5 separate regions of the Homo sapiens genome follow, and all the other regions are linked to region 4. The links are contacts of gene promoters, found by promoter capture Hi-C in blood cells and fetal thymus (Javierre and others, 2016). All regions are on one chromosome and are shown on one strand. Each heading gives the region's core, a stretch centred on a gene start or on the middle of the fragment in contact. The rest is flanking DNA. Distances are from core to core; before and after follow the strand shown. Region 1 overlaps GSG1L (GSG1 like). Region 2 holds the start of LOC124903674 (a long non-coding RNA gene). Region 3 overlaps GSG1L (GSG1 like). Region 4 holds the start of SBK1 (SH3 domain binding kinase 1). Region 5 overlaps SGF29 (SAGA complex associated factor 29).

Region 1 (2,700 bases), core at 89-2,588, 280 kb before region 4:
CAACCAGCTCTGCTCTGGTCTCAGATTTCATACTCCCACGCAGTCGCTACAGCTGCTCCAAATGCCCCACGGTTTCTGAGCCCCCAAGGTCACTGCTTCCTCCAGGCAGCCACCCCTCCCCTAGGCTGAGTCAGTCACGCCCCCCTCTGCCCTCCCACCACCCCTTAAACACAGCCTATTAATACCCTGTTATGGCACACATCATGTGGTATTCTAATTGCATTAGCCTGTGAAAGCAGCAGCTCTGGAGGCAGCCCAAAATCCCAATGCTGAAACTCACTTGCTGTGTGATCTTAGGCCAGTCACTCAACCTCTCTGAGCCTCCATTTTCTCATCCGTGGTGAACCGGTGACAATATTGATTAAATATTTAACATGTGTAGACAGAATGTCTATTGGGCCAGGCAGTCTGCTAGGCACTGAACACACAAAACTGTACCTGTCATCATAGAGCTTACAAACTTAGAGTGCAGATTGACCTGAAATGAAATTTTATACAAAAAAAAAAGATACTTCTGGCTGGGCATGGTGGCTCATGCCTGTAATCCCAGTGCTTTGGGAAGCCAAGATAGAAGGATCACTCAAGGCCAAGAGTTCCAGGCCAGCCTCAGCTACACAGCAAGACCGTGTCTCTATGAAAAAATTTTTAAAATAAATTAAAATTATCGAGGGTGGCAGCATGCATCTGTAGTCCCAGCTACTCGGGAAGCTGAGGTGGGAGGATCACTTGAGCCCAAGAGTTCAAGGCTGCAGTGAGTTATGATCATGCCACTGTACTCCAGCCTGGGCAACAGAGCAAGAACTCTCAAAAAAAAAAAAAAAAGTTACTTCAATGCAATTTATAAAACTTACAAGTGCCCAGGTGCAGTGGCTCACACCTGTAATCCCATCACTTTGGGAGGCCGAGGCGGGTGGATCACCTGAGGTCAGGAGTTCGAGACCAGCCTGACCAATATGGTGAAACCCTCTCTCTACTAAATACAAAAAATTAGCCGTGCATGGTGGCATATGCCTGTAATCCCAGTTACTTGGGAGGCCGAGGCAAGAGAATCGCTTGAACCCAGGAGGTGGAGGTTGCAGTGAGCTTTCACCATTGCACTCCAGCCTGGGCCACAAGAGCAAAACTCTGACTCAAAAAAAAAAAAAACTTACAAGGGAGAAATATAATACACATGTGGATAATGGAGAGAGCCAACCTAGTCTGGGAGAGGTAACATTTATGGAGAGTTATACAGTAGGAGCCAGCTAGGCAAGTGAGGAGAGCTGGCGAGCAGAGGGAGGTGGGCGTCAGGAGGAAGAGATGGCATGTGCCCCTGCCACAGGAAGAGAATCTCCTTTTCCAGAAACCCAAAGAGATCATGACTATAATGTTTGGGGGTGGAGCAACTATGCTTTGGGTCTTCAGGGCCCAGAACAGTGCTTGGCAGGGAAATGTTACTAGACCCTGTTGCCCACCACTCTCTGATTTGGTGACTGTACGTCCACACATGGGCTTGGCATTTTCCAAGCACTGACCACGTGCCAGGTGCCACACAGGACATGAAGGAAGATGCGAAGATGGACCAGCCCTGGATCCTGCTCTCTCAGCATTTCATCTCCCACAGCATGGGGACCCCAAGCGCCACGTTAAGGCATCAAGGTTTGTATAATAGCAAACACTAGCGATTGTACACCAAAGCTGGTTTCTCTTCTTCCATGGCATTGCAGACACCCAGGCCTCCCAGACAGGAGGCATGGCCATGCAAAGCTCTTGCCAATGGCTTGTGAATGGACAGTCCGTGTCAGGGTGAAGACATCAGGCATCTCCTGCCTTCCTATGTGGCTCACTTCAGCCACACTGACAACGACCAGGGTGCCCTAGGGCATACAGAGCAATGACTTGGAAGGAGCCTGGCTCCTGGAATGACTGGCAGGGGCAGAGCTGCCCCACCAACCAGGACTACGACCTAAGAGAGAAACAGCTGCCCTGTTCTTCAAGCCTCCATATTGCAGGATCTCTTTGTTACAGCAGCATAGCCTTACCCTGACTCATCTAGAGCCTGAGAAAGGGACAGGGACCTAGGAGTTTGGAGGAGGAAGTGGCCATTTTGTGCTGCAAGAATCAAGGAAGACTTCCTGGAGGAAGATGACATTTGCACTAAGCTGAAAGGAAGTATGTATTCTGAATAAATAAAGGTGTATCCATGGGAGGACATACTAATAAACAGTTATTGAAGAGCACGAGGCAGATCCACACGTGCAGACACGGGAACATGCCTCAGTTATGTTGTCATGGGGAGAAAGCAGAGAGTAGAACTGTACCTCTCTGCTTCCATCTCTTTACATAGGTATGCGGTTGATAATAGAGAAAACAACTGGAAAAATACAGACTAAACTGAAGAGTGGGGATAAGCACACGGAAAGGGGAGTCATTTTCTTAATTTTCATTTTTTTAAGAGACAGGGTCTCGCTCTGTCACCCACGCTGGAGTGCAGTAGGGCAATCAAAGCTCTCTGTAACCTCCAACTCCTGGGATCCAACAATCCTCTCATCTCAGCCTCCCAAGTAGCTGGGACTACAGGCACGCTATTTTTTTTTTTTTTTTTTTTTTTTGGTAGGGACGGGGTCTCACTATGTTGTCTAGGCTGGTCTTGAACTCCTAGGCTCAGGCAATCCTCCCACCTCAGCCTTCCAAAGTGCTGGGATTACAGGCATTAACCAC
Region 2 (2,700 bases), core at 36-2,535, 320 kb after region 4:
AGCTGGTGCAGGTCCTGGGAGCATCAGCAGTGATTGATTGAGTCACAGCCTCACCACTGCAGCCAGACCTGAACTTCCTCACAGCTCAGCAACACCCAGCAGGTCACTGAATGTCCCCAGGGCAAGTCCTCTACTCACTCACTATTAGCGGGTGCTCAGTAGAAGGCACCCGTTTTCCATTATTTTATTAACTATTTCTTGGCTATCGTCTCTGTGCAGGACTTTGTTCTACAGCAGTGACAAGAGCTGCCCTCGGGCAATGTAGTGCAAAGGTTGGGGTGGGAGAGACTAACGAGAGTCATAAAGCACCTAGCCGGTGAGATAGTAAGTATTCAGGTAAAGAAGCAGACGGGGAAGTACACAAGAGGTGCAATTTTATTTTATATTTTTAGAGACAGTTTCTTGCTCTTTTGCCCAGGCTATAGTGCAGTGGAGCGATCAGAGCTCACTGCAGCCTCCAACTCCTGGGACCAAGCGATCCTCCCACCTCAGCCTCCCCCCGTAGCTGGGACTACAGGCATATGCCACCATGCCCGGCTTCTCAGAGCTGCAATTTTAAATCGGGAGATAGAGAAGACCTCCCTGTGGAGGTGGCAGGTTATCAAGATAGGTGTAGAGAAGAACCTTCCAGTCAAAGGGAAAAGGCAGGTCCTGCTGTGCTCAGGAATGGCCAGAAATACTATCATCCCCATCTTAGAGACGGGGACAGGGCCGCAAAAGTGTCAGGGCGTTTCCTGGCTCCTCAACAAACAGCTGGATCCGAAGTGGTCTGGGGGATGAGCCGCCCTGCCTGGGGCGGACCTCCCCTGGAGCTCAAGGGCTCGCAGGGCGCACAGGCCTCTTGGGCCCCGGGTCCGGCTCAGGCTCGGGCTTGGTGCCAGCAAAGGGACCTGCGCGGTGCCCTGGGGCCGGGGAGGCCCGAAGGCCATCGCCCGTGCGGCGCGGCGCATAGAGGTCCCGGCGGAGGTCGGGGTGCAGCGGGAGTAGGAGGCGCGCCTATGGAGGGGGTTCCAGGCCCACTCCAACAGCGGCAGGATACGGAGGAGTTAGGGCGGCTCCAGGCAGGGGGGCGGACCCCAAGCCCTTGCCCGCCTGCCGCCGCCTGGTCTCCTTCCTTACCCGAAGGGTTGCCACGGCGGGCGGGAAGCCGTGCACGACGAGCACTTTCTCCCTGGGGAGGAGAACGGGGGTGTCCCTGTGAGCCCTGCCGCGCCCAACCGCGGGTCCCCTCCAATTCCACCCGAGAGCGGGGTCCTCACTGCCGGCTTCAGCCTAGCCCCAGGCCCTGCCCCTAAATGAAGTCACGCCCCCTGCACCTGCCCACCTCAGGCCGCGCCTCCAGCCCAGGTACCCACCTGTCCCCCCTCTTCTCTCTCCTGCGCTCCATCCGACCCCAGCATGCCCACCAAGACCCCTACGCTGGCCCGCATCCTGGATCATCACCTCCGCCCCAGCCAGCTCCTCCCCGGAGTTCCACCGCCAAGATTCCCAGGGCACTGTCTCCCCGTCATGCTCCTCCTCTGTGACAGTCCCGTCCCCACCCTGGACTCCCCACCCATGTCACAGGCATGCCCTTCCCTCTCATCAGGCTTGTGCCCAGCGGGGTCCGCCTCCTCCAGGAAGCCTTCCTCCTGGCACAGAGACCCTTCCGGTCTCACCAGGAGTGCAATGGCCCGATTTGGCTCACTGCAACCTCTGCCGCTGCCCCCTGCCCCATCTTTCAAGCAATTCTCCCGCCTCAGCCTTTTGAGTAGCTGTAATTACAGGCACGTGCCACCATGCCCGACTAATTTTTGTATTTCTATTACAGACGGGGTTTCACCATGTTGGTCAGGCTGGTCTCGAACTCCTGACCTCAAGTGATCCAACCGCTTTGGCCTCCCAATGTGTTGGGTTTACAGGCTTGAGCCACCGCGCCAGGCCTGGGCCCTGCCTTTTGTGTGGCCCCCATTGTGCTGCTGGACCTGACAAGCAGGGCTGACAGTGAACCCCATATAAACGTGGCCCTGATGACGGGGGTTCAGGCCGTAGAGCAGGTAGATGCTGAAGAAGCGCCCCGGCCTAGCCGCGACTCCCGTGGAACTCTTTGAATTTTAGGAAATTCTCCTTAAACACACTTCTGGTTCAGCACCGACATCAAGAAGAGAGCCTCTCCACCACCTGCAAACTCACTTTGTCCCTCCCTGGTTCTTCCCGCTGGGCGCCCACTATGCTGCGGTCTCGCCCATCTGTAGCTGAGCCCAGCAGCCCCTGTAGGACACCTGGCCGAACGGGTCACAGTCCTGCTGGGCTCACTCGGGAGATGGAGGCTCCCAGGGGCTCCTCCAACAGCCCCAGGGCTGCTCTCTGGTCACTGCACCTGCCTGGGCTGCCACTCTGCTTCTCATCTGCACAGCAGGAGAAAAACTCCACAGAGCGTGCTGTGGGCGGGGCCGGCTGTGCAGGGAGCACCGGGTCCTTGCCCTGCCCCTGTCCTCCACACTCCCCTACAGGGACTGTGCCCCTGGCTGCATCCTGCATTTTCCTCCTTTTGTCCACAGGTATGAGGTAGATGACATTGATGAAGAAGGCAAAGCGTGAGTGTCCAGGCCAGGGCAGGGCATGGAGCCTGGGGGCAGCCTACCAGCTGGGAAGGAGCATCCCCACCCGGCCACAGGTTGACACAAGCCCCTCTACCACCAGGAGACACACCGTGAGCTT
Region 3 (2,700 bases), core at 132-2,631, 300 kb before region 4:
ACAGTACAAAATTACTTACTTCCTGGGTTTTTCACTGGAAATTAAGCTTACTAGGAGTTGAAATTATGGTAATTTAAACTACTAGATATAAGAGAAACAATTCTATATACAGAGTGTATAAAGAAAGCAAAATGTATTTTAGGTTAAGAAATGTTATTAAAAAGACATGAGGTTGTGGTTTTTGCTGAAGGAAAAGTAATTTTTTCTAGTTTAGAGGTTATTTAAAGGTTGATTCAAAATGAAGGAGAAATGGTATAGATAAAAATAAATGAATCTAAAAGTTGAGGTAAGAAAAAAGTAGAAAAAAGTCTTATAAGCAGTTATAAAGGATTTGTGGGAATCTTATCTGTGTGGTCCAAAGCTGACTGAAATTGGATGGATTTGTTTATAGGGTTTTATTAAAATTAGCTTTTGTATTGATAATACACTAATATAAAAGTAAATTTTCATTTTCTCCTTTAAACAAGAATTTATGTCATATTAATAAGAGAGAAAATTATTTTGTTTACCTTTTCAGTCAACTGCAATTAAGAAAAAAAAAAAAAGGAGAGGGCTGGGCCTGGTGGCTCACGTCTGTAATCCCAGCACTTTGGGAGGCCGAGGTGGGCGGATCACGAGGTCAGGAGATCAAGACCATCCTGGCTAACATGGTGAAACCCCGTCTCTACTAAAAATACAAAAGTTAGCCAGCCATGGTGGTGCATGCCTGTAATCCCTGCTCCTCGGGAGGCTGAGGCAGGAGAATTGCTTGAACCCGGGAGGCGGATGTTGCAGTGAGCCGAGATTGTGCTGCTGCACTCCAGCCTAGGTGACAGAGCAAGACTCTGTCTCAAAAAAAAAAAAAAAGAAAAGAAAAAAAGAAAAAGAAAGAAAAAAAGGAGAGAAGGAGAGACAGTTTCACGCTGTCTTTATTAGGGCTTTGGATTTTTTGGAAAACTCAGTCTCCTCTCTATCAAAGAGTAAAGGTTTTTGCTTTTTGCCATCTTTGAGTTATCACTTTGGCTAAATGACTATTATTTTGCAGTCATCCAGGATCCTATTTTGATAAAGTGTTTTAAAGCTTTCTTACTTTGATATCAAGTGTTTTAACCTTTGATATTTGACATACTTCCCAAAAGCAAATTTCAAATTCTAAACTTAAGTCTTCTTGACCCAAACTAACTTAGACATAACAAATAGGCCCCTGAAAGGCCAAGAGAGATATACTAGGCTTATTTGTTATGTTAAAATTATACGGACCAGGAGCGGTGGTTCACACCTGTAATCCCAGCACTTTGGGAGGCCAAGGCAGGTGGATCACCTGAGGTCAGGAGTTCGAGACCAGCCTGCCCAACATGGTGAAACCCTGCCTCTGCTAAAAATACAAAAATTAGCCAGGCATGGTGGCAAATGCTTGTAGTCCCAGCTACTTGGGAGGCTGAGGCACGAGAATCACTTGAACCCAGGATGCAGAGGTTGCAGTGTGCTGAGATCACACCACTGTACTCCAGCCTGGGCAACAGAGTGAGACTCAGTCTAAAAAAAAAAAACAACAAACAATTATATGGGAAACGTTGTCAAATAAGAAATGGTGTTTAACTTTCTTTGAGTTGTATTTGTATAAATGTGTTATTAATATGTGTCCCAAAATTGGAGGAAATTCCTAAATGTCTGATATGTCTTGGTATATGCAGTTAATTGCTTTATTCTGATTCTTTTTCCTAAAAGCTTTTTGCAAACCCTAAAGTGTGGTGTCTTCGAGGAAATTCATGGAAAGGACCCTGACAAGTCATCTTGAATAACAGGTTTCTGATAACTTTGGAGATGATACCATTAGGCTAGTAGAAACGTCCAGGGCTCTTAATTAGCTGATGTGTTTATGAGGATTGCTAACCCAACATCAAGCAGAACAAGAATTACTCACATGGGTCTGAAATAATAAAGGACTGAAATCATTTTTATGACTTTTTGTTTGAACCATTGTTGTTTCTTTTTATGTTTTGTTTTTCAGAGTCAAAGAAATTTTTTTCTTTCTTTTGAGCTATTTATATCTACAGCAATTGGGCAAAGTATACACTTGTGAGCAAAATGGAGACATTTACATTTCCCTCTAATTTCTCCATAATTTGGAAACTATTCATGAATATTCTTATTTTATTATAATATAGTTATTAACATACATTCACTAAGAATACGTTTTCTTTTGCCACTGGACACATTGGAAATACTTATTATGCCAAGGTTTTGACTAGAATGGTGTATTTTTAGATATGACCATTCTGCTTTGAGGAATTGAGGTTGACTTAATAGAGCCAATAAAAGGTCCTCTGGAAAGACTGGCCTAGTTCCTTGTCTTATGGTTCCCTTGCAAGATTCCTGACCTGTGATAAATAAAGAATGACACTTTCTAGCAGGTCCAGGAACCTCAAGATATTTTGGGACCTCAAGAAGAAAAGAATTCACCCAATTCATACAGGTAGTTTAGGCACATTTTGATGACGAATCTGTGACTTGGCTTCCTAAATCCAGACCTTTAAAAGTCTAATTCAAGTCTTTGCTATTGTGAATAGTGCTGCAATAAACATATGTGTGCATGTGTCTTTATAGCAGCATGTTTTGCAATCCTTTGGGTATATACCCAGTAATGGGATGGCTGGGTCAAATGGTATGTAACAAACCTGCACGTTGTGCACATGTACCCTAAAACTTAAAGTATAATTT
Region 4 (2,700 bases), core at 198-2,697:
TGGCTCCTAAAGCTCTGGAAACAGTCGGGAGTGGCTGGGAGGATTACGCTGGGTTGAGAAAACAGCCTGATCAAAAACTTAGAAGAAATAGGGGCAGTCATAAAAAATGATGAGTTCATGTCCTTTGTAGGGACATGGATGAAGCTGGAAACCATCATTCTCAGCAAACTATCGCAAGGACAAAAAACCAAACACCGCATGTTCTCACTCATAGGTGGGAATTGAACAAAGAGAACACATGGACACAGGAAGGGGAACATCACACACCAGGGACTGTTGTGGGGTGGGGGGAAGGGGGAGGGATAGCATTAGGAGATATACCTAATGCTAAATGACGAGTTAATGGGTGCAGCACACCAACATGGCACACGTATACATACGTAACAAACCTGCATGTTGTGCATATGTACCCTAAAACTTAAAGTATAATAATAATTAAAAAAAAGAATGAAAAAGAAATGCTTTTGAAGCTTGAAGCTAAAAAAACAAAAAAAAAAGAAAGAAATAGGGAAGGCGTCCTATTGGGGCTTTCTCACTAGGGAAAGAGTGAGCTGCAGGGAGGAGAAAGAACAGGGCCTGGAAGGACGAGCTGTCCCTATCTCATCTCTGTCCCCATCCACCCACTTCATCCAGGCCACCAATTTCCGGTTATCAAACAGACAATGCAACATCCCTTACACCTGCTGTACCTCTGCCTAGAATCTCCTTTCTTCCCTTCTATCCGGCGAGCAGTTCCTCCCAGCTGCACTCCTGGACTAGTCACTGCCTATTTGCAGCAGGGATCGCAAAGGCGACCTCAGTTGGATAGGGCAACCACCCAGGCCCAAGTTTATGACCTCTTCCCCAAGAAGACTGTGAGTTCTCTGACGTCTCGCTGGAAATAGGATGCATGGATGGATGGATGGATGGATGGACGGACGGATGGATGGATGGATGGAAGCGCAGGCAGGCAGGCGGACGCATGGATGAATGAAATGCATATCCGAATGCAGAACCTGGATTTGTTTTCCCTCCTTCAAACACACACAGGCTCCGCCCCACTAGCACAGACCGGGACAGTCTGGGGCAGTCTCGTCCCGCAGGGCCCAGAAAGCTGGACCAGGTGACCCTCTCAGACTCCCCCGAGTCCTCTGTAACCTCGTTCTCGCCCCCTCGTGGGCTCTGACCTAGAAAAGGAGTGGGGTGGGTGGGGGGTGGGGGGTGGGAGCCAGCTCGGGAGCCACCGGCGCTAGGACCCAGCGCGGCCGGAAGGGGGTGGGGGCGCCGCGCGGGGAGAATCTGCGCTCCGCGGCGCGCGGCGGGAGGGCGGGCGCGCGGCGGGTGAGCGCGCTTGCGCGAGGGCGCGCGCCGAGCGGGACGGACAAAGGGGCGGGCGGCGGCGCGCGAGCCGGAGGGCGGAGCCGCGGGCCGGGCGGGCAGGTGCGCGCTGGCTGGAGGGCGGAGCCGCGATGCCGCGATGGAGCGCAGCCCGGGCGGGCGCCGGGGCCGGGGCCCGAGCGCCAGGCGGAGCGCGAGCTGGAGCCGCAGCCGGAGCCCGGGCCAGGCCGGGGGCCGGGAGCGCAGGGCCGGGCTGCTCGTAGCGGCGGCGACCGAGCCCCCCAGCGGCTGAGGGGCTTCCAGCGCCCGCCGGTGGCCGGGACCCACTAAAGCCCCCGCAGCCGAGGAGTGCGGGGAGCCCCCTTCCACATCCAGGATCCGGCGAGCCTCGGGGAAGAGGGGGGGCCCTCCCGGATCCGACACCGAGCGACTCCCCTGCGGGGAAAGCGGAGACTTCCTCGGTATTTAGAAGACAGCAAGCCCCCTACGGCACCGCAAGGACTCCCCCTCCTCAGTCTGGGCCCCCGCCCCAAGACCTAGAACGCAGTGCCCCCAGGCCGGGATTGCGAGAACCCCCTCCCAAGATCCGGTCATTACAACTCCACACCTCAAGACAAGAAGACCCAGCTCAGAACGCCCCTAGATCAGGGGATCCCAATTCCCCCCAACTCCGGTACATAGAAATCCCAAATCTAGGCAGCCGGGGACAGCAAGAGACACTCTCACCAGCAAGAAGCCTCGGGGATCCCCCCCCTAAAGCTCCAGGACTTGGGCGACTGAGCCCCTGGCGGCACCGCTTGCACCCCGGTCCATGGTCGTGGCGCCCTGAGCCCCCGGGGCCGGGCAGACGAAGACCGCGACGGCGCCCAGGCCCCCTGCCGCGGCGTCCCCGCGGCCCCAGCCCAGGTAAGCCGGGCCCAGGTGAGGGGCGGCAGGTGAGTGGCCACCGAGGTCCCCATAGCCCTGCAGGTGGGGAAGGAAGTATCGGGTTGCGCGCTCCCCCTTCCCCAGCGTCGCCATGGAGCCGAGGCTGAAGGACGTCTCTTTGTGTCTCGCTTGGAGGAGCCGCCCCCTCCTCCTCTCCCTTCCCCCACCCCACTCCCTAGCCTTGAGGCTCGGGCGCAGCTCCCCGGCCCCACGGAGGAGTGGTGGTGGAGCCCGTTGTGCCATGGAGAGGGGGGAAGAGGGCGGAGAGTCCCCCCCCAAAAGCTGCGAGCCTGGAGGTTGGCCCCCAGGTCCTTGGAGTGTGAATACCCCTCCCCCACGGCCAAGCTGAGCTTCTAGTGAAGTCCCCCCGAGAGGGGAAAATTTGGGGGTGCCCACAGGTGAGGGGGGCTGCCTTATGTGGCCCTGGGTGATGGCTGGGGCTTCGGGTGTGTGTCT
Region 5 (2,700 bases), core at 180-2,679, 280 kb after region 4:
TCCACTTTTATTCTTTTGTGTGGTTTTAACTAATGCAACTAGGGAGACTAAAGCAACTTCATCCTGTATTCTAATTCACCGTGTTCACTTCTGATTAATTCCAGTTCTGGAAAGGACTCCAAGATTTCCAGTTTGTCTATTGTTCCTTGTGTAAGAGTACATACTTACCATAAATCCTGCCATGGGGTCACACCATCTTGATGTTATCATACTTCAGTTGTCCAGTGCATCCCTTCTGAACCACCCTTTCCCTATGGTATACAAGCCCTGGGGGTACTGGCACCAGGATCCACCATCTGGCTTCACCACCACCTGAGACACAGATGTAGCTTCTGTTCCTAGGTCTCTAAATGTTTCTAAGGGGATATGTTCTTCTCTATATGACAATGCATTGTGTAAAGCTGTGGTGGTAAAAACAGTGTCGTACATGTGGGACAACACAGATCAATATCACAAGCAGCTAAAAGAAAAAGAAATTGGTCTTCATAAAAATTAAAAACATGTGCTTCCAAGGACACAACTCAAGACAACTGGCTGGACACGGTGGCTCACACCTATAAGCCCAGCACTTTGGGAGGCCAAGGCGGGTGGATCACTTGAGGTTGAGAGTTTGAGACCAGCCTGGTCAACATGGTGAAACCCTGTCTCTACTAAAAGAAATACAAAAATTAGCTGGGCTTTGTGGTGCGTGCCTTGTAATCCCAGCTACTCAGGAGGCTGAGGCAGGAAAATTGCTTGAAGCCGGGAGGCAGAGGTTGCAGTGAGCTGAGATTGAGTCACTGCACTCCAGCTTGGGTGGCAGAGTGAGACTCCGTCTCAAAACAAACAAGCAAACAAAAAAGACAAATAACCAAACTTTAAAATGGTAATATATACAGATGGCCAACAGCATATGAAAAGATACTCAATGCCATTAACCGTTAGGGACACACAAATCAAAACCACAATGAGACTCTACTTCAGACTCACTAGGATGGCTGTAATCAAAAAGAGAGAGGCCAGGCATGGTGGCTCACACGTGTAATCCCAGCATTTTGGGAGGCCAAGGCAGGAGGATTGGTTGAGCTCAGGAATTCGACACCAGCCTGGGCAACATAGTGTGACCCTGCCTCTGCCAAAAATAAAAATGACAGAGAGAGACAATAGCATGTGTTGGCGCAAATGCAGAGTGGGAATGCACATTGCAGGTGGGAATGTAAAATGGTCACCCAGTTGGAAACAGCATGCAGCTCCTCAGAAGGTTAAACAGAGTTTATGTTTAATACACTTATTAAGATAAACATAGTGTAAATACGTTAAAAAAAACACATTATTAATTCTCATAGATATGTACCCAGAAATGAAAACATGTCATGAATACAAAGAAGGAAACAACAGACACTGGGCGGGGAGGGTAGGAGGAGGGAGAAGCGGGAAAGATAACCATCGGGTACTGGGCATAATACCTGGGTGATGAAATTATCTGTACAACAGACCCCCATGACACATATTTACCTATGCAACAAACCTTCACATGTATCCCCAAAACCTAAAATTAAAATTAAAAAAGAAGGGCCGGGCGCAGTGGCTCACACCTGTAATCCCAGCACTTTGGGAGGTCAAGGCAGGTGGATCACCTAAGGTCAGGAGTTTGAGACCAGCCTGGCCAACGTGGTGAAACCCCATCTCTACTAAAAATACAAAAAGTAGCCAGCGTGGTGATGGGTGCCTGTAATCCCAGCTACTTGGGAGGCTGAGGCAGGAGAATTGCTTGAACGAGAGAGGCAGAGATTGCAGTGAGCCGAGATCACACCACTGCACTCCAAGTTGGGCAACAAGGCTAGAATCTGTCCCAAAAAAGAAAAACAAAGAAAACGTGCCCACACAAAAACCTGTACACAACGCTCATAGCAGCATTATTCATAATAGCCAAAAAAATAGACGTAACCCAATGTCCATCAGTTCATGAACTGACATGTAAAATATGATATAGCAAAACAATGGAGTTATTCAGCAATAAAAGCACAGGCCTGGCATGGTGGCTCACGCCTGTAATCCCAGCACTTTGGGAGGCTGAGGCAGGTGGATCACCCGAGGTCAGGCGTATCACCCAAGGTCAGACATTCGAGACCGGCCTGGCTAACATGTCGAAACCCCGTCTCTACTAAGAATACAGAAATTAGCCGGGCGTGGTGGTGGGCGCCTATAGTCCCAGCTACTTGGGAGGCAGGAGAAACACTTGAACCCGGGAGGCGGAGGTTGCAGTGAGCCAACATCGTGCCATTGCACTCCAGCCTCGGTGACACAGCGAGACTCTGTCTCATTAAAAAAGAAAAAAAAAAGTGCAGACTACATAAATCTAAAGAGACAGAAAGTAAATTAATATTTGCCTGGGGGTGGGGTGGCCATGTACCATGTATTTAAAGTGTGCAATTCATTGGTTTTTAGTATATTCAGAGTTGTGCAACCATCAGCACAATTTTAGAACATTTTCAACACCTGGCCAAAAAAAAAAAACAAAAAAACCCATACTCATTAATAGTCGCTGTCCTTTCTCTCCCAACCCTTCCCCACCCAGCTTTCTATGGATTCGGCTATTCTGGATATTTCACGTAAATGGAAACACAATTATGTGGTCTTCTGTGATTGCAGCTTCTTTCACTTAGCATAATGTTTTCAAGGTTCATCCATGTCATAGCGTGTCTCAGTACTTCATTTCTT

The links. Contacts are between HindIII fragments. The CHiCAGO score rates a contact against its expected background, and 5 or more counts as called.
Region 1: a fragment that was not itself captured here is called in contact with the fragment with the promoter of SBK1 in region 4 in 2 of 17 cell types (M1 macrophages and neutrophils); the score reaches 5.3 in M1 macrophages.
Region 2: a fragment that was not itself captured here is called in contact with the fragment with the promoter of SBK1 in region 4 in 5 of 17 cell types (M0 macrophages, M1 macrophages, endothelial precursors and 2 more); the score reaches 6.8 in M0 macrophages.
Region 3: a contact is called between a fragment that was not itself captured here and the fragment with the promoter of SBK1 in region 4, in 2 of 17 cell types (neutrophils and M1 macrophages). The highest score is 6.1, in neutrophils.
Region 5: a contact is called between a fragment that was not itself captured here and the fragment with the promoter of SBK1 in region 4, in 6 of 17 cell types (endothelial precursors, naive CD4 T cells, megakaryocytes and 3 more). The highest score is 8.7, in endothelial precursors.

What each region holds. Positions count from the first base shown.
Region 1 is chr16:28,012,088-28,014,787 of GRCh38, forward strand. The region is part of intron 1 of GSG1L (GSG1 like); the gene reads right to left. Among named protein-coding and RNA genes, the nearest start is that of GSG1L, 50 kb to the right of the region's middle. The HindIII fragment of the contact is 3,230 bases long and covers 1-2,700 here.
Region 2 is chr16:28,612,798-28,615,497 of GRCh38, forward strand. It overlaps LOC107984835 (a long non-coding RNA gene), which reads left to right. Exons shown (of 2, transcript XR_007065036.1): 2 at 2,541-2,700. LOC124903674 (a long non-coding RNA gene) reads right to left here and starts at 1,734. Exons shown (of 2, transcript XR_007065047.1): 1 at 1,407-1,734; 2 at 1-1,171. It also overlaps a transcript of SULT1A1 not described here. RefSeq lists enhancers at 1-132, 380-930, 931-1,480, 2,469-2,700. The HindIII fragment of the contact is 7,854 bases long and covers 1-2,700 here.
Region 3 is chr16:27,988,222-27,990,921 of GRCh38, forward strand. All of the region lies in intron 1 of GSG1L (GSG1 like), which reads right to left. Among named protein-coding and RNA genes, the nearest start is that of GSG1L, 74 kb to the right of the region's middle. The HindIII fragment of the contact is 647 bases long and covers 1,059-1,705 here.
Region 4 is chr16:28,291,078-28,293,777 of GRCh38, forward strand. It overlaps SBK1 (SH3 domain binding kinase 1), which reads left to right and starts at 1,448. Exons shown (of 4, transcript NM_001024401.3): 1 at 1,448-2,223. It overlaps LOC124903670 (a long non-coding RNA gene), which reads right to left and starts at 988. Exons shown (of 2, transcript XR_007065033.1): 1 at 690-988. RefSeq lists silencers at 940-1,111, 1,319-1,548. The HindIII fragment of the contact is 5,383 bases long and covers 469-2,700 here.
Region 5 is chr16:28,574,867-28,577,566 of GRCh38, forward strand. The region is part of intron 1 of SGF29 (SAGA complex associated factor 29); the gene reads left to right. Among named protein-coding and RNA genes, the nearest start is that of SULT1A2, 21 kb to the right of the region's middle. The HindIII fragment of the contact is 4,261 bases long and covers 1-2,700 here.